Linked DNA regions of Homo sapiens: region 1 is linked to region 2. The links are contacts of gene promoters, found by promoter capture Hi-C in blood cells and fetal thymus (Javierre and others, 2016). All regions are on one chromosome and are shown on one strand. Each heading gives the region's core, a stretch centred on a gene start or on the middle of the fragment in contact. The rest is flanking DNA. Distances are from core to core; before and after follow the strand shown.

Region 1 (5,240 bases), core at 1,378-3,877, 980 kb after region 2:
CCAAACATAAGGAAGTTGTCAAGAGCGTGCACTTTCGTGCTCAGGGCGGGCCGTCACCACACCGAGTCCCGGATCAACATCACGATCAACTTGGAAATCTGCACACGGAAACCAAAGAGCTGTACATTTACAATACTTTCAGTTTATGCTAGTGTTATGTGATACTAAATGAGCTAACGATCTAATACGTACCCATAGCACTCAATTTCTAGTACCTATTGTTATTCCCTGTAACTTCCAAGTTATTTCCTCTGCAGTACTAACGTAACATTAAAGATTGGTACTGTGGTGCTAAGTCCAATAACCCCCCTTTTGAATGAAATGATTACAACTCATTTATTGAAAACATGCGTGGCTCTTAAAAGAGCCTTTGGGATTAGGTGTAAAGATGCTTACTTGGCAAAGTTACTTGGAACTGGTGTACTTGGTGACGGCCTTGGTGCCCTCCGACACGGCGTGCTTGGCCAGCTCCCCCGGAAGCAGCAGGCGCACGGCCGTCTGGATCTCCCTGGAGGTGATGGTCGAGCGCTTGTTGTAATGCGCCAGGCGGGAAGCCTCGCCTGCGATGCGCTCGAAGATGTCGTTGACGAAGGAATTCATGATCCCCATTGCCTTGGAAGAGATGCCGGTGTCGGGATGGACCTGCTTCAGCACCTTGTACACATACACTGAATAGCTCTCCTTGCGGCTGCGCTTGCGCTTCTTCCCGTCCTTCTTCTGAGCCTTAGTCACCGCCTTCTTGGAGCCCTTCTTTGGGGCAGGAGCAGACTTGGTAGGTTCAGGCATCGTAGCGTTAATAGTTAGAACACTGTTGCAAACACCTGAGAAAATAATCACTCCCGCCGAGGCCCTGTTCATTTATAGATGCGGTATTCAAATGAGGTTAATCAGATTTCGTTTATGATTGGATTAATTTTAGAGTGTCGTCACAAATGCCAATGTAAACGACACTTAAAAGTCTACCTTTTCATTGGCTATTTCGTTCCTTTACTTGTACCCAATGAGAAAGCCCAGACCAGACTACCCGAGGCTACTATAAATAGGCCTCTTTAGGCAAGACAGCTGTGCACTTCGCTTGGAGCAGTTGGTTTTTGAGATCCGACTTTTTTAACATTGTGGTGTCAGAACTTACACCGAAAGATACTTAACAGATTAGGAGAACTCACATTCCTTTCTTCCTTTAACAAAGTATGGGACTCGTTGCATACAGAAGCCGTGCTAATTGGGACATCCCCCCCCCCCAAGTCTGTCAGTTTTACGTTTCGGCAAGTCCTTAATCCATCCAAATGCCACATTTAAGGACCAAGTATTTTTCTGCAGTGTCGGTTTCTAATTTTCAGTTATGTGGCAGTAGTCTCCCCAAGCACTTGAAATGTAGCCCTTCGGAAATAATGTCAGTACTATGCCACTTGTCCTAAGACGTACTCCTCTGAAGTCCCTCACTGCCTGCCATACTCGATAGGGATAACCAGTAGGCTTGTAACCAGCACAGAAACTGATACACTGTGCCGTGTTTGGAACTCGGAAAAACCCAGCTTAGAAACCCGGGAAAATCCCAACATTTTTTTTCCCATGCTATCTGGAGGCCAGGGCCTGCTAAAAGTGCAAAGCACAAGGGAGGCCCAAATGGGTTCAACTCCGACACTCGAGAACGCAAAATCGAGATGACGCCACTGCACTCCGGCTTGGGCGACGCGACGCCTTAGTCAAAAATAGCTCCGGAGACACACAAAATCCCACTCCTCTCCCCGACTTTGTTCCCGGGAGACCCGCCCCTGCTTAGCAGCGTTTTCCCGAGCCACGCCCCCTAATAGTGCAACAGCTCTTTTACTGAGAGCGGTGGGTGGCTCTGAAAAGAGCCTTTGGGTTGTGTTGGGCTTCTAAGCAGTTGGCCAAAGGAACTTTCTACTTTTTCTTGGCTGCCGCCTTCTTTGGCTTGGCTGCCTTGGGCTTGGCGGTCTTTGGTTTAGCCGCCTTGGGTTTAACTGCTTTGGCCTTCGCTGGGCTCTTGGGCGCCTTTTTTGGCTTGGCTGCTTTCGCCTTTTTCGGGCTTTTCGCTTTTTTGGCTCCAGCAGCTGCAGCCGGCTTCTTCGCCTTCTTTGGGGTCTTCTTGGCGCTCTTCTTGGGGGTGGCCGCCCCCGTCGCCTTCTTGGGCTTCTTCGCCGCTCCTGCTGGCTTCTTGGCCTTGGCCGCGCCTGCCTTTTTAGCCTTAGGCTTGGCTTCCCCAGAGGCCGCCTTCTTGTTGAGTTTGAAGGAACCCGACGCGCCGGTGCCCTTGGTCTGCACCAGGGTGCCCTTGCTCACCAGGCTCTTGAGACCCAGCTTGATGCGGCTGTTGTTCTTCTCCACGTCATAGCCAGCGGCTGCCAGCGCTTTCTTGAGAGCGGCCAAAGATACGCCGCTGCGCTCCTTGGAGGCGGCAACAGCTTTAGTAATGAGCTCGGACACCGGGGGCCCAGACGCTTTGCGCTTGGCCGCACCTGCAGACTTGCGGGCCTTCTTCTTCACGGGAGTCTTCTCGGCAGGGGCCGGAGCAGCGGGCGCGGCAGGCGCAGTCTCGGACATGTTGAAGGCAAGCGTGAGCGAGAGCAATTCGAGCCGGAAGCAGAGGCACTGGCCGGGACTCGAGCCGCGGCGCTGCGCCCGCCCGTTTATATAGGGCGGAGCTGCGCCGTGATTGGTGCGCTGTCCAGCCCGCCTCGCTGGCAGCCGCAGAGTGTCCTCTCGGATCCCGAGTTGTGTTTGTTACACCTCAAAAAAAGCCAAAAATATAAAAATTGTCTACACCGAACTGCCCGGTTTTTCTCAGATAATGATCCCCGAACCCTCAGGCTTCACGCAGATCTCAAATTATAAGGGAAGCACAAAGCCTTGTGCCAAAAACTTGCAATATTTCCCGCCGTGCTTGGCAAATTTCAACTCAGAGAAACAAAACTTTCTATTTTCTTCGTAAATTATAAACCGATCTTTAACTGTGGACTTTTCTGACCTCTCAAATATGATACTCCAAGTGGTTAGCTTCTTATATATCCAAAAAGCATGCCACTGGCATTAAGATTTTTATTACAAATCTGCACTTAAGTGAGGGAAGTAACACAGGCTCCTCGGAGAGTCCTGCCTATTGAGCCGAGGGCATTTGAGTTCATCAAACTGGTTTAGTTTAATGCCAAACAAATTATTGCCCATTTGAGATTAAGTTTTGGACCCCTGGGACATCAATCTATACAGCCATGGTTTTACATCTGTCCGCTACATCTGAGTTTTTAAACAATTCTTTGGATAATTCTTTCCCTTTCTGCTCCCAAGGGTTGGGGGCGGGGCTGTTGCTTCTCTCTTCCTCTGGACAATTGCTCCATGGATTGAGATACCTTGAATTCAGGGTATTTGGGAACGAAGGGAAGTCCAAAATGTACTCAGGGTACAGAGATGAAAAAGGATTAATTTTCAAATGTGATGTTCATAAAGTCACTGGAAGTGGAGGTGCACTTTACTTTAAAGCATTTGTCTGCAGCCTTGCTGAGTGCTTTTGGCATATGCTTCAGAACCAAATTGCAATAAAGTAGCTTAGAGCTGAAATTCAAGCATTGATGATAAGGCAAAATAAATAAGAAACGTAGATTGAAACATCTACTCCCATTATTAGTGAAACCCAGCCCCTATTATTACTGAATAGTTGAGGAATGACTAGTCCACTCACCACGTATGGTTTCAATCCCCCTGAAGATTGTATTCCAATGCTTCCCAGAGCTCAATAGAAAGAAAAATAAGTGACATGTAGTGATTAAACGACAAGTTCAAATTTCGATCTCAGAAGTAGAGCTTTGAGAGTCTATCTAAGCTATTATAAATCATTGCCCTCTGAAAACATCCTTTGAACAATGTCTGAGTGAATTTCTTTAGGTAGTTGCCCAATCAAGAAGAGTGTATGTAAGCTGGCAATGAAAGCCCAACCAAAAGAATTATTTCTGGTCCGGGCGCGGTGGCTCACGCCTGTAATCCCAGCACTTTGGGAGGCCGAGACGGGCGGATCACGAGGTCAGGAGATCAAGACCATCCTGGCTAACACGGTGAAACCCTGTATCTACTAAAAGTACAAAAAATTAGCCGGGTGCGGTGGCGGGCGCCTGCAGTCCCAGCTACTCGGGAGACTGAGGCAGGAGAATGGCGTGAACCCGGGAGGCGGAGCTTGCAGTGAGCCTAGATAGTGCCACTGCAGTCAGGCCTAGGCGAAAGAGCAAGACTCCGTCTCAAAAAAAAAAAAAAAAAGAATTTTTTCTGAAAAACGATATGGCTGGAACAGTATGGGTGGAACTACAAGCCACTTATCATGGAAACAAAATAAAATTTTGCCCAGTGCTATAAGGTGATATGATACTGTTCTGTGGACGTGGTTGATTGTAATATGGCGTTGGATATCATTTTAAATTTTAATTTCATTGCCCAAAATCTCCAGACACAAATTCTGCTACTGAAATAAGGAGAATATAGAATTTTGATATAACACGAGTGAAATGTATCAAAACAGTACTGTTTAATGTTGAATTTGTTATAAAAGTGATGTAAATTATCAATGTTTTTAATATCTTGATGTGTATTTTCAATCTAATTATTGCACATCAGTGCAAAAATAAATATGCCCTTTGGTATTTATTGAAATAAAAAGGGAGATGGATAAATCTCCAAAACAGACTAGGGAAACTGATTATATGGGCATTTGATTCCAGAATGGTAATATTATACCTATTTAATGACAACAAAAACCACTCCTGTAAATGACTGAAACTTACACAACACATGGAAGTTTGCTTTCACATGCCTCACTTTATCCAGTGTATTCCTCATGGCTAGGAAGGAGTTAAACTCTCCAAATTCTGTGGTCTTTCAACTTCCACTGCTTGCCTCCTTAAGGTGTGGTGTGTTTTCTTTACTTTACTTTTCTTTTCTTTTTTTGAGACAGAGTCTCACTGTGTCACCCAGGCTGGAGTGCAATGGCGCGATCTTGGTTCACTGCAACCACTGCCTCTGCCTCCAAATGCATGGGCTGGGAGAGGTGGCTCACGCCGGTAATCCTAGCACTTTGAGATGCTGAGGCGAATGGATGACTTGAGATCAGGAGTCCGAGGCCAGCCTGACCAACAAGGTGAAACCCCATCTCTGCTAAAATAAAATAATAATAATAATAATAATAATAATAATAATAATAGTTAGGTGTGGTGGTGTAATCCCAGCTACTCGGGAGG
Region 2 (5,596 bases), core at 788-3,287:
ACCATCCTGGCTAACACGGTGAAACCCCGTATCTACTAAAAATACAAAAAAGTAGCTGGGCATGGTGGCAGACGCCTGTAGCCCCAGCTACTCAGGAGGCTGAGGCAGGAGAATGGCGTGAACCCGGGAGGCGGAGCTTGCAGTGAGCCGAGATAGCGCCACTGCACTCCAGCCTGGGCGACAGAGCGAGACTCCGTCTCAAAAAAAAAAAAAAAATTACATCAGAGTTCAGTGAACAGAGGGAGGAGGCACAATTGTGCAATCTTGGCATGAGTATTCCTTATTTAGCTACAACACCAAAAGTTATTTGCACTACCGTAGTAAATAACCCTCCTTTACAGAAAACTGCCAGTCTTGCTAGGAGGCCTCAGTTTGTGTCAGGAACGCCCAATACCCTGTACTTTTCTAATAGTCATAAACATTTCTAATATTTCTAATGTACATTTCTAATACTCATCAACATTTGTTGAACCATATTATAATCCTCTATATATTTTCCCTCCTATCTGTGAGGCAGACATTTTAACAGTCTGTGTGCTAACACTTTACCTCAGATTTCTTCATGGGTTTTAAGGTTTATTATTAACTATCCTGTCAAGTTCTTCTAGGTAAGCAACTTGGGATATTAGGCCTTTCCAAATGAGCCATCTTTCTTGGGCTCCAGATAACGTCATCCCAGTATTTTACTCACTTCATTTTAAAGGAATACTTTGCAACATGCAGTAGGGTGGGTAAGAGAATGCTTCACAGCTATCCATCAGGAAAGATGTGAGTCTCTGACAGAGCCTTTGCAGGGAGGTGGACTATTGTGTCACAAAGTTCTTCAGCCTCGCTCTCGTGCAGCGGCGTCACCGCCGAGCTCTCGCAGGAGCGGCAGCTTGCTGATCAGCAGCTCGGAGTTCTGGTAGCGCCGAACGTCGCGCAGGGCCACTGTGCCGGGCACGTAGCGGCGGGACTTCTTCATGCCGCCCTGGCCCGCGTGGAACAGCTGTCTGCTAAATTCTAGCCCGGGCGATAACTCTTTTGGGCCAAAGTGCTTCAAGAACTCACGAAGCCACTGGTGCTCTGTGGACACACACTGATTAAGTTTAAAATTAAGTAATGGCCTAAGAGATTTGTTCACATCTTAACTTTTAAGCGTGGTAAAATCTGGACCACCTTCCCTCTAGTTTTTCTTTTAAATCTGCGGTGTTCGCTACACTGTTTTCAAAAAGATGGGTAATTTATGACTAGAGTCTTGTCCATGTCTCACTTTCTTTCACATGGAATAAATGTTAAGTTCTTTTAGAGAAGACGTGGGTGGCCCTGAAAAGAGCCGTTGGTTTGGACTCGATTTTACTTGAGCTGCCACAAACTAGTACAGATAGTTACTTGCCCTTCGCCTTGTGGTGGCTCTCAGTCTTTTTGGGCAGTAGCACGGCCTGAATGTTGGGCAGGACACCGCCCTGTGCGATGGTGACTTTGCCCAGCAGCTTGTTGAGCTCCTCGTCGTTGCGGATGGCCAGTTGGAGATGACGCGGGATGATGCGGGTCTTCTTGTTGTCGCGGGCCGCGTTGCCCGCCAGTTCCAGGATCTCGGCGGTCAGGTACTCCAGCACCGCTGCCAGATACACCGGCGCGCCGGCCCCGACCCGCTCGGCATAGTTGCCTTTGCGGAGCAGGCGGTGCACTCGGCCCACGGGGAACTGGAGACCGGCCCTAGAAGAGCGAGTCTTGGCCTTAGCGCGGGCTTTGCCTCCCTGCTTGCCACGTCCAGACATAGCGAGCGCAACTCACTACGAGCAACCACAAAGTGAACGGGAAAGGCGGCGCTTTTTATAAACACTATTGGGCGCGAAAAAGAAGACGTGTTGTTGGTTAGGGCTGCAGTTTAATTTCAACCAATAGTAGTGCGTCTTCTGGATTTGCGAATCCTGATTGGGCAGACCTGACCTCTGACGTTACCCTGAATAACTACCAATCAGACACAAGACTTCAACTCTTCACCTTATTTGCATAAGCGATTCTATATAAAAGCGCCTTGTCATACCCTGCTCACGCTGTTTTTCCTTTTCGTTGGCGCTTTATAGCTACACAGTGCTATGCCAGAGCCAGCGAAGTCTGCTCCCGCCCCGAAAAAGGGCTCCAAGAAGGCGGTGACTAAGGCGCAGAAGAAAGACGGCAAGAAGCGCAAGCGCAGCCGCAAGGAGAGCTATTCCATCTATGTGTACAAGGTTCTGAAGCAGGTCCACCCTGACACCGGCATTTCGTCCAAGGCCATGGGCATCATGAATTCGTTTGTGAACGACATTTTCGAGCGCATCGCAGGTGAGGCTTCCCGCCTGGCGCATTACAACAAGCGCTCGACCATCACCTCCAGGGAGATCCAGACGGCCGTGCGCCTGCTGCTGCCTGGGGAGTTGGCCAAGCACGCCGTGTCCGAGGGTACTAAGGCCGTCACCAAGTACACCAGCGCTAAGTAAACAGTGAGTTGGTTGCAAACTCTCAACCCTAACGGCTCTTTTAAGAGCCACCCATGTTCTCAAAGAAAGAGCTGGTGCTTGTATTCCTCCTCTGCTGGCCACTGACAAACCCTTGTAACTTGCTACTGTGTTTTTTGGTCTGAAGTAGAGCAGTTATTTAACTAATCCTTAGTGACTTTTTTTTTTTAGATCTGCCATTCTAATCTTAGAGTTAAGTAAGGAGATGGGAAATTTTCTATTATAAGTTCGAAACCAATTAAAATACGTTAGAAACCAATTAAAATACTCGTCGGTCCCCCGTCGGTTAGTGATTTGGAACAGTGCCAAGTTGCAGCGGTTGTCAGTTTGAATTTGCCCGGGCAACGCCCGCCCTTCCTCTGCATCCTGATTGGTTGTTGTATCCAGGAAGTCCACGGTCGGCTTGGGTGCGCCAAAGGAATCCAAACCCCGCCTTTATTTGGCCTTCCTTACAAACTCAGTAAACTGTCAGTTTCTCATTCTTTAGTATTTTATCGCTTTCGGGAAGGAGATTTATTTCTAATTAGTTTTCGTTGGATAGAGCGTTTTTTTTTTTAAAGGGACCCTTTATGGCAACATAATCAGTTTTTTTTTTTTTGAGAAGGAGACTTCCTCTGTCGCCCAGACTGGAGTGCGGTGGCGCGATCTCAGCTCACTGCAGCCTCCGCCTCCCGGGTTCCAGCGATTCTCCTGCTTCACCCTTCCGTGTAGCTGGGATTACAGGCATGCGCCACCATGCCCGGATAATTTTTGTATTTTTAGTAGAGATGGGGTTTCACCATGTTGGCTAGGCTGGTCTCGAACTGACTTCAGGTGATCCACTAGCCTCAGCCTTAAAGTGCTAGGATTACAGGCATGAGCCATCAAGCCCGGCTACAACGGAATTTGAATGCTGTAGTTTTCAGCCTGAGAAAGATCAATGCTTTATTTCTGATTAGAATACTATTTTCCCTTTATGGTATATCTATATAAGCAAAGGCATTAGAAGCCTAAACAGGACAATTCGGGGCGTAATGAAGGCAGAAAGCTTGAGGACATTTATCCCAGACTCTTTTCTGAAACAAGTCAATTTCAATTTTAAAACTCCTTTCGTTAGTATTTTAAATACTGTTTTTGACTTTGCCTAGAAGAAGTGAGGAAAAACAAGTTCCCCCTTATTCAGGTTGTCACAAATGAGAACCAGTCACCCAACAAACGATGTTGCTCTAGGTTGTAACTTCAGTCATGTGTCTCTTAGGTAAAAATCCAAGGTCTATAAAGCATTTGGAAGCTCCCACTATGACTAGGTTTTGGTTTCAAAGGTAGTAATTGTATATAAACTTGAGTTACTATCTAGTTTATTTAAAATGGATCTAAATTTAGCACAGTAATAACATCTAAAACAATTAGTATTTTTGTTAAATCCACTATCAAATACACACGTTTCCCTTGTTGACTCAAGTCCTGTTTTTTTCAAAGCCCAGTTAAATATTGCCTGCTTTATGAAATTTCTTCTGTTTTTTTAGCTTTTTCTCGGACACTTGTCCAGCCTTTGAAAACTGTCTGTAGAGTTTCTAAAATATGTATCTCTCTGAATTGCTATCTGGTTTGTTGTATATATTTCTATGTAGAAAATATACACTCAAGTTCTTTTCCTTCACCATAATCATCCCGTACTAAGGATAACTGAACTGTTATCAATTCTGTGAATAAACAGAACTTAAATTACTTTTATGACATTATTGTTATGTTACATGGGCCTCTGACCCTCTCTATTAATCCAAATAGTCAGATGATAATTTCCAAGCTAAATAACTTGCTTCTTTGTCTTACAGGATATAGAAATCAGAATAAAAAGCAGGGTTTGTAAGAAAAGGAGGATTGCGACTGACTCATGGGTATATTGTCCAGCCACAGGTGAAAATTTGTAAAGGCTAGGTTTTCGAAAACTATACAAAGTTAAGTTGAAAAGAACCCAGCTAATTCTCCTGTTACTCAGAAGACTAAACTGCCTAAGGGGTAATGAAACAAATGATCACCTTATGGGTTATTTTCATCTTGCTGGTGTCCCCTTAATAAGGACAAAGAGTTAATACTTTGCTTGAAAAACTGAATGGGACTGGGCGGGGTGGCTCACGCCTGTAATCCCAGAACTTTGGGAGGCCAAGGCTGGTAGATCACTTGAGGTCAGGAGATCGAGAGCAGCCCCTGCCCCTGGGGGATGGTGAAACCCCGTCCCTACTAAAAATACAAAAATTAGCCTGATGTGCTGGTGGGACCCTGTAATCCCAGCTATTCGGGAGGCTGAGGCAGGAGAATCACTTGACCCCAGGAGGCATAGGTTGCAGTGAGCCGAGATCGTGTCAGTGCATTCCAGCCTGGGCAACAGAGGGGACTCCGTCTCAAAAAAAAAAAAAAAAAAAGAAGAAAAACTGAATGCTGCAAGTTCAACCCATTACTAACCAGTTCCTGAAGAATTGGCTTTTTTCCCTTTTTTTTCCTCTGGCTTTTTCCTTCATTTTAAAAAGGGGGATGTAACAGTGCCTCTTGAGCAAATAGTTTTGGTATACTTAGAACAATGTCCTGTACATAGTAAGCATTCAATATATGTTGGCTAATACTACTGATGCCGGTTGTAACAGTAGTATTAGAAACCGTAACTCAAGTATGTCCATAAATGGCAATAGGGAAAAGAATTGCTGCCACTCAGCACAATTTGGAGTATTGAATGTCATTGTTTACTTTTTCTAGAAGGAGAGTGACCTAAGACACTGATCTAAACTGAATGTACATGGCTAATGGTTTGGATAGACAGATTTTTTTAAGTGGGCAAAAGTGGAGGTTGTGTTGACTGGAAGCTTTGGGGAACAGTGATACGGATGAATTTCCCAGAATGGTCCCAGAGTATGAGAATAATATCCCACGTGAATGCTAACCTAAATTCCCACTCTTCAGAGGAGGCTATCAACAATCAGGTACACATCAACCATATGGCTGTCATGTAGTCTCTTTTCCTATCACCCCACTTATTGCCCAAGTGATTTACTTGTAAACTGTGACCAGGGTGGTAGGCAATGATAGAGGTGATACTTGAGTTCTGTAGTATAGACTTAGCTCACCAAGGCTGACCTCTGGAT

What was found. Contacts are between HindIII fragments. The CHiCAGO score rates a contact against its expected background, and 5 or more counts as called.
Region 1: a contact is called between the fragment with the promoter of H1-4 here and the fragment with the promoter of H2BC11 in region 2, in 11 of 17 cell types (total B cells, total CD4 T cells, naive CD8 T cells and 8 more). The highest score is 28.5, in total B cells.

The regions. Positions count from the first base shown.
Region 1 is chr6:26,153,716-26,158,955 of GRCh38, reverse strand. It overlaps H1-4 (H1.4 linker histone, cluster member), which reads right to left and starts at 2,627. Exons shown (of 1, transcript NM_005321.3): 1 at 1,841-2,627. The coding sequence starts at 2,565. The coding sequence ends at 1,906. It overlaps H2BC5 (H2B clustered histone 5), which reads right to left and starts at 834. Exons shown (of 1, transcript NM_021063.4): 1 at 349-834. The coding sequence starts at 786. The coding sequence ends at 406. RefSeq lists enhancers at 454-503, 643-1,394, 2,124-2,203, 2,464-2,623, 2,148-2,899 and a silencer at 1,784-1,833. The HindIII fragment of the contact is 19,818 bases long and covers 1-5,240 here.
Region 2 is chr6:27,129,236-27,134,831 of GRCh38, reverse strand. It overlaps H2BC11 (H2B clustered histone 11), which reads left to right and starts at 2,037. Exons shown (of 1, transcript NM_021058.4): 1 at 2,037-2,516. The coding sequence starts at 2,082. The coding sequence ends at 2,462. H2AC11 (H2A clustered histone 11) reads right to left here and starts at 1,789. Exons shown (of 1, transcript NM_021064.5): 1 at 1,297-1,789. The coding sequence starts at 1,760. The coding sequence ends at 1,368. RefSeq lists enhancers at 1,107-1,622, 1,318-1,657, 1,623-2,136, 2,268-2,337, 2,348-2,417 and 1 more. The HindIII fragment of the contact is 7,052 bases long and covers 1-3,509 here.